Linked DNA regions of Homo sapiens: region 1 is linked to region 2. Evidence: promoter capture Hi-C in human tissues and cell types (Jung and others, 2019). All regions are on one chromosome and are shown on one strand. Each heading gives the region's core, a stretch centred on a gene start or on the middle of the fragment in contact. The rest is flanking DNA. Distances are from core to core; before and after follow the strand shown.

Evidence for each region. Contacts are between HindIII fragments. The study calls those that stand out against the background at their distance.
Region 1: a contact is called between a fragment that was not itself captured here and the fragment with the promoter of RAB20 in region 2, in 1 of the 25 tissues and cell types used here (lymphoblastoid cells).

What each region holds. Positions count from the first base shown.
Region 1 is chr13:109,155,616-109,159,351 of GRCh38, forward strand. The region is part of intron 32 of MYO16 (myosin XVI); the gene reads left to right. All of the region lies in intron 1 of LOC105370356 (a long non-coding RNA gene), which reads right to left. Among named protein-coding and RNA genes, the nearest start is that of MYO16-AS1, 9.8 kb to the right of the region's middle. RefSeq lists enhancers at 36-1,235, 643-1,193, 1,194-1,743, 3,734-3,736. The HindIII fragment of the contact is 6,045 bases long and covers 1-3,736 here.
Region 2 is chr13:110,559,388-110,562,971 of GRCh38, forward strand. RAB20 (RAB20, member RAS oncogene family) reads right to left here and starts at 2,335. Exons shown (of 2, transcript NM_017817.3): 1 at 1,961-2,335. The coding sequence starts at 2,132. RefSeq lists silencers at 1,895-1,954, 1,934-2,123, 2,015-2,464. The HindIII fragment of the contact is 6,225 bases long and covers 1-3,584 here.

The DNA.
Region 1 (3,736 bases), core at 1,115-3,614, 1.4 Mb before region 2:
GTTCTCTTCCCAGATCTCCATCACCACTAGACTCAGACGCCCTCTCTTGATATATTTCTGCAAGCATTCACAAAGGGATGATAAAATCTGTTGCACGTTTTCAAAAGGCAATTAGAATTGTGCTGTTCAAAACATGCATAATTGCAGTGTGTCACCTCCATGAGTTTAACACATTTCCCCTGTAGCAGTCTCCACTCTCCTCACATCCACCCATCTCCACTGAACTCTCTCTTCTTGAGTTTCAGATTAGCCTCTGTGGTTCTTTACATCTGAAATTCGTCTTTCTGAGAGGCAATAACACAAATATTTGGATTATGCTATCATGGAAAGGAAAGAAAATTCTATCATGTAAAAGAAAAAACATATTATGTAAAAGAAAACAAATCACTTCCTAGAAGCTTATAAAGTAGGATGCAGGTCGACTTGAGAGGGGTGTCAAAGCCCTGTTTGCATTTCTTCCTCATGTGCAGTAATACAGGGTTTCAGAGAAATCTATATTTTAGAGATTTAAAAGGAGTTGCCCTGTGTAACACAAACTAGATTTGGTTTAACACAAGCTAGACGCCAATTTCAGGTCGAAGTGCTTGTATCCAAATTTAATTACGCACCATCTATGTGTATCTGCAAGCGCTGTCGAGCTGCGACTTCTAAATTTTACAAACGAGAACTTGAGAAGTGGTGGGAGCCTGCCAGGCACCTCTCTCTGCATTTGTACTTTTCCTTAATGCCAAGTAGGAAAAAACAAGCACATTCCCTTCATGCAATAGCCTTTCTGAAGAGGAATTTTCCTATAGAGTTTCAGAATGAGTTATAGCCAGTATGAGTAATGAGTTTAAAATGTATTTTCACATTTTTTATGCCTTACATAGCACTCTCAGTATTAAGTCAGCCAAACAGCTATAGTTTGTTTTTCTCCTGCGTTACTGAAACCCGGATCCCATCTCATAGGATTCTAAAATACACTCTAATCTGATCTCTAGCGCAGGTACCTAAGAGAAAAGTGGTGTTTTCAGCATCTTGTTGGGGAAACATTCCATGGCTCCTTTCTCTCCCCTGCTTCCTGGCCTTTCCCCAGCACTGACGCTGTCAGCCGCCCTGCGTGCCACACAGTCCTGCCCTCTGCCAAGGCTCCTGGCCTGCAGCCCCTCCTGCAAGCCCACATCTGCCCTCCTGCACGCCCACATCTGCCCTCCTGCACGGCAGTCACCTGGGCGTCCCCTCCTGCTACCTCCTCACACTCGAGAGTGTCTCTTCCTTGAAAATTTCTCCTTCCTGAGAGATTTTTAAGTCTCTCCTAGCTGTTTCCTTTCCAGTCCTAATAAATTCTCTTCTTCAAAAAATTGCCACTCAATTTAATCCTCAGGCCTGCGGCTGTCACTTCAAAGTCAACAAGTACAACCCCAGATGCACCCTGCTCTTCAGGTGGGAGCTGCTGCTCTGAACCACGCCCCAGCTGTGGTCCCCATCAGGTCCCAGTTCTCCCGCTCAGTGGGATTGAACTCAGCTTCCTCCTGCCTTTCCACTCCTCCTTCTGCTTCCCCAGCCTCTCCCCTGACTCTCTTTCTACTTCTAATCTCTCCTCAAGGTCCATTCAGCTGTATACTTTCTTTGCTAGATTAGTATTTACAAAAAAAAAAAAAAAAAAAAAAAAAAACCTTATTCTTCACAGCATGCCCTTGCTCAAAATACTTGCTGGAACCCAGTCCTGTGATGCTCATAGACTCCAAAGCTCTCTGCTCCCACTTCCCGGTGCGGAGGTGTGGGCAGAGCCAGCCTCCCCTCCCTCACGAGTGCAGTCAGCTCTGCCTCTGCGGCATTCCCTTCCTTTTCCCTCCCCCTCTCCACATTCCGTCCTCAACTCAAAATCCACTGCTTCTTCCTCCTGCCTACACAACAAAGGCTCACCTGGCTGCTCCAGCCCACTCTGACCTCTCCTAAGAATTCCTAGAGCATTTTGCAGAGCTCCCATCCCAGCCCCCTGGCCCTTTGCAACCTTAACACATGCCTTGAAGGCACCTTGAAGACAGTCCCCCTTAGAGCTGAGTCACCACAGAGAAGCCTGGGGAAAAGCACCCCTTAGAATGCACCCTGGATGTCCCTGTCACATGGGTTGGCATTATAAGTGTCAAAGGCTTTAACAAGTGAATAAAACCGTCAAAATTAGCTCAGCTGAGCAGGATGCGAGTCCCACAGTGATGCGTCAGATTCTTCATTCTTCTATACCCCTCAGGATAGATGTAGTCCCTTTTCTTCTTGCACTTACCCGGTCGTCATAAATTCTTGTCATCTGCCGTGCTCCATAACCCCTCTAAAATGTGAGCACTCAATGGATTGTTTCTTTCGGACGAATATTTCTTTAAGTTCTAAAGTAAATCTTAGCACCAGGTTTGGACCTTGTAGGACGTGAATACCTGTTGAATCAGTGGAGAGCTCCCTAGCTTGGGGGAGGAATATAGTTTGCTCATGGTCCACCCCTCTTCCTTTCTTCTTCATTCAGCTCTCATGTTCCCCAGAGTGGCCACTGCGCTCCAGGGCATCTCTTTGCCTTCCCAGGGCTGAACCACGTGCTGTCCGTTCTGCCAGGTTTCTTGTCACTCTTGGTTTGGAGCAAGGACTCATCTTAACTCCCATTATGCTCCCTGTCTTTCTCCAGCTCTCCCAGAATTATTCAAGGACATTTCTCTCTCCCCACTAAGAAACGTCTCTCCACTCTTGCAGAGTTTTTGCATTCTTCCTTAAGAGAAGTTCCTCTTCTCGCCTTCCATCCTACCTCCCCCTCCCTCCACAAAATCCTTCCTGTGTCTCCTCTCCCAGACACATCCCTGATGTTAACTTATTCATACCTCTCCTGTCATGGCAAACTTATAAAACAGTCTTGTTACTGTCTGAGGAGTTGGACTTTTCCCATAAAACATTTCCAAGGTGAGCCGGAGGTGACGTTGCCTTTGTAGTCTCATCCAGTGACCTCACACCTATTTCTCCTCCCGCCTGTGAATTACTCAAAGGTAAAGATTTCATCATGTAGATTATGGCTAGAGGCTCTATGCCTGAGACCCATTTTGGTTTTTGTCCAGAGATTGAAGCATATGCAATTGGGGAAAGGTGAGCTTTTTTAAAAAAATAATAATAAAGATGAAAAATGAACATTTAGAGAGTTAAGTGGACATTTATTCAAAATGAGAAAATAAATCAAAGTATACGTTTACAAAGTATTACAAATGTTAACTGTTTGTACATTGCTTGAGTCCCTCCCTCGGCCTTGGAAGAGGCCTGGGGAAGATAGGGGTGCATGGAAGCCCCTTCACGTAACTACGGGTCAACCCACTGTGCCCACTCCAGTCACCAGGATTCCAGAGTCACACTCAGCACAGCCAAAGCATGCCAACATTCATCAAATTGATTTTTATCTCCTGATATTACAGATTGTAAAGCAATGTAAAGTACAATTTTAAAAAACTATGTATGGACCTTGTGTCTTTGAATTCTCAAACCATGGGTCAGGAATCAGTTTCAAACAACCATAGGTCCTTTCTCTCATAAGTTAACAAGCTTAGGTAGAAAACAAACAGCTCCACTCCATTGCATAAAAGAAAATATTCACCTCATGCAATGAGATATTTTCCTTATCTTATAATTTTAAATAAGTAAAGATCAGCACTCAAAGGTGGATTAACACTGAAAGTGCTTCCGTAAGTTGTCAATCTTGTGTGAATGGGGAAAAATGATCATTGTGGTG
Region 2 (3,584 bases), core at 1,085-3,584:
ACAGGGTCCCCTAAATGTTAAATTCTGAATTTCCAACAATTATAGAAAAGGTATCTGTTCCTACCTCTCTTTTCCCTTCAAGTACCCGGTCAGGCCACAGGCCACCGAGGAGGCAGGCAAGGGTGCCCTGTGTCCCTGCCAACTCTGGGCAAGGGCCGCCTGAGTGTGTACACAGGAAGTCAGGAATGTGGAGAAGGGGCCTGGCCACTCTCTGTTCTGAGGAGCTCTAGTAATTCACCCTTAGGATCTTTCGAACAAGCAGCAGCAGCCTCGGATGCCAGGAAATGAGCTGCTGCCCCCCAGTAACGCTTCAAGACATCTGGGGCGTCACATCAGCACAACTGCAAAATCTCTGGTGATCAGGATTCCGGCTGCATCACGTCCTTGGTGCTGAAGAAGCAAGAGGCCAGTGGAAACGAAACTGCTGCTTCATTCCCTCCGATGCAGGGGCCGTTCCAGCACTGCAGGGCAGCTCTTGTTCCAGAAACACACCGTGTGTTAAGAGTCTGCCTCCAACGGTGGCCACTACAGGGGTTTCGGTTAGGGTCCCCCAATAACACTCCTGCATTAACCTTGCTACTTGTAAACCAAGGGCAGCAGTAAATCCCAGCCAACCAGCAAAAGCAGCAGAGGGGCAAAGCTTTGTACAAAACCAAATTGGGTTCAATTTGACTTTGTACAGAAGCAAATTGGGTTCGTGAATTGGGTTCGATTTGACTTCTAGAGCGTGTGTTCCATCGTTACCAAATGCTCAGTGTGAGGGAGTCAGCTCAGTAAACCTCATCCTGCAGCCTGAGGCAGAAGACAGAGTTGGAGCAAAGATCAGGGAAATGCACCTCTTTACCTGGGGGACATTGTTTTCACAAGATGATTGCCAATAAATTAGTCACGATGTTAACTGGGATAATAATAAAAAAGCATCAAAGAAGGCAAAAGGGAGGGGGAGAACTGGAAGTACCTCTGTGAGCTTCGTTAATTCAGTTTTAAAGAGAGAATTCATTATCATCTTGTTTATTCAGCATACTGATACACCCAAGATGGCAATTTAAGAATTCTGGACGGGGCCTTTGGGTATATGACTTTTTAAGATGCTAACATAAAAGAAGTCAGAACTTTCAGAGTTTCAGGCTTCTAAAAACTCACACTCATTGAAAATGTGTCACACTATTTCCAGTTTCTTCATTCACTTACAATATCTTATTCTTTTGTAAGGAGAAGGAAATATATTCCATTGCAATGCTACAATCACCAGTGTTATTTTCCAAAGTTAAACAGAAAGCCTGAATTGAGATCCTCTAAGTTGTACTTTTGAAAAGTCACAAATACTACACAATAAAAATAACTCATTACCTATCTTAAAAATGCTTCCACCGGAAGTCACTCCAACCCAAACCCATATGACGTATCTGAGCCAAGATCAAGCAGAAGATTAACTGTAAAAGGCAGATATGCTCCGGGCTAAGAGGTCCGGAGGCTCCAGTTTTATTTCCTCTCTCCTGACTAAACCCAACAGGGGGGAACACTCTGTGCCTCATTTTACTTTTTCTTAGAAAGGGGCTAATAACACCAGCTCTGCTCACCCCTCAAGTGAATCTCAAAGGATATCATGTTCCTACGGGTACGTGAAAACTGAAAATACCTAACAAAGCAGCCACAGAGGAGCGTCTCTGGTTCCCAGGGCGGCAGAGCAGGAACGCGGGGCTCGGGAGCAAAGGCAGCTTAGGTACACAAATGACCAGCGGGTTCTCTGCAACTTGGGTTGTCCCTGAGGTCACTGAGTGGCTGAGAGGCAGCGCTCAGCCCAACCAGCAAGGGAGGACGAGTGGGAAACCCCGAGAAGGAGGCATTTGCTGTCCGAGGCCGGGACCCTGTGCGCGGCCGGGTGCCCTGCTGGAAGCCCCGCGCCCCCCGTCCCCGGCGGAGCCCCAGGGCGGTGTGGCTCATGCGGCGCCGGCCTCACCTGCGGTGTCCCAGATGGAGATGTTGTAGGAGCGCCACTGCTTCAGGTAGAAGGCGCCGCCCACCGTGCTGACCGTGTCCGGGAAGCGCCGCTCCATATACCGCTGCAGCAGCGACGTCTTCCCCACGTTCATGTCCCCCAGGAGCACGATCTTGCTGTCGGGCTTCCTCATCTTCCCGTAAGAACCCCCAGCGCCCCCGCGCCCTCTCCCCGAGGCTGGCCGGCTCGTGCGCCCTGGGCGCAGCTGGAGGAGCGGACCCCGGACTCGCCGGGACCCGGATTCTCGTGAACGCTCCGGGACCTTCGCCTCCGGACGCCCGGGAGCTCAAGAGAGGAAGCGCGTGTGCGCGCCCGGGAAGGAGCTGGGTGCAGAGCACGGAGCCCACGTCGGGGGCCCGGACCGCGGCGGCCTCGCCTCGCCCCGCCCCCGCCCCCGCCCCCGGGCCCTTTCACCGCCGCGGCCCCGCCCTATCCTCCTCCGCCCACCGCCCCCGTCCCGCCCCTGCTGGACCTCGCCGTTTCGCAAGCATCCGAGTTCTCCAGCCGAGGCTCGGGACTGCTGCAGGGTGGAAAATGAAAGTTCTGAGAGCACCTTCCGCCCCTCCGCTTCTGCACAGCCGGGGCTGCGGTGCGAGGAGCTTGGCCGCGGGGCCCGAACGAGGCGAAGGGGCCGGGGCCCTTGGGGAACCCCCTTCTCTCTTCCACTCTCCCTTAGGTAAAACCCGTGTTCCTCTCACGCTCGACCCAGCGCCTTTCCAGCTGCGGTCGATTTGCTTCTCCGCGTGTAAGTACAGCCACCCTCAAGGTCATTGAAAAAGTTTGCTTTAAATGAGCGTCTGCGGAACTCGTCCTGAGGCTCTCACTGTTACAGATTAGAGATGGGGGCGCTTTCTAGTGGAGGATTTTGCTTTTGCTCTTCTACTTTTGCAAGAAGCTTTTTGTCCTGAAAAGTGGACAGTCATCTCCATTTATAGCTTGGAATGAAAATTTGACTATGGAAGTTGCAGTCGCTACTTGAGAAATATTTCCTCCTTCTTTTTTTTTTTTTTTTTTTATTTTTGACACGGAGTTTTGCTGTTGTTGCCCAAGCTGGAGAGCAGTGCGCGATCTCGGCTCACTGCAACCTCCGCCTTCCGGTTTCAAGCGATTCTCCTGCCTCAGCCTCCCGAGTAGGCGGGATTACAGGTATGTGCCACCATGCCCGGCTAATTTTTGTATTTTTAGTAGACACGGGGTTTCACCATGTTGGCCAGGCTGGTCTCGAACTCCTGACCTCGTGATCCACCCGCTTCGGCCTCCCAGGTCCTCCTTCCGTTTTAAAGGATAAACCTTGAAATGCTTTTAAAATATGCAGCGTGTAGAATTTGGTTAGTTGGTTGGTTGGGGTTTTTTAGAGAAAATGAGAGGTAGAATGGACTCTAAGTTAAACCCTGGGGGACAGTGTCACTCTGGCCGCTGGCCTGGCTGGGAAAGGCGATGAGACCCTGAGCAGGTTAAAACCCGTGTCCTGAAGGTGTCCTGTAAAGGGAAATAGGCCCGTTGCCTCCTTCGTAGGTGCCCTGAGACTCCGACAAGGCAGGAATGCCAAGGTATTTCGTACCTGCTCAGCCCTGGCATGTCAGGT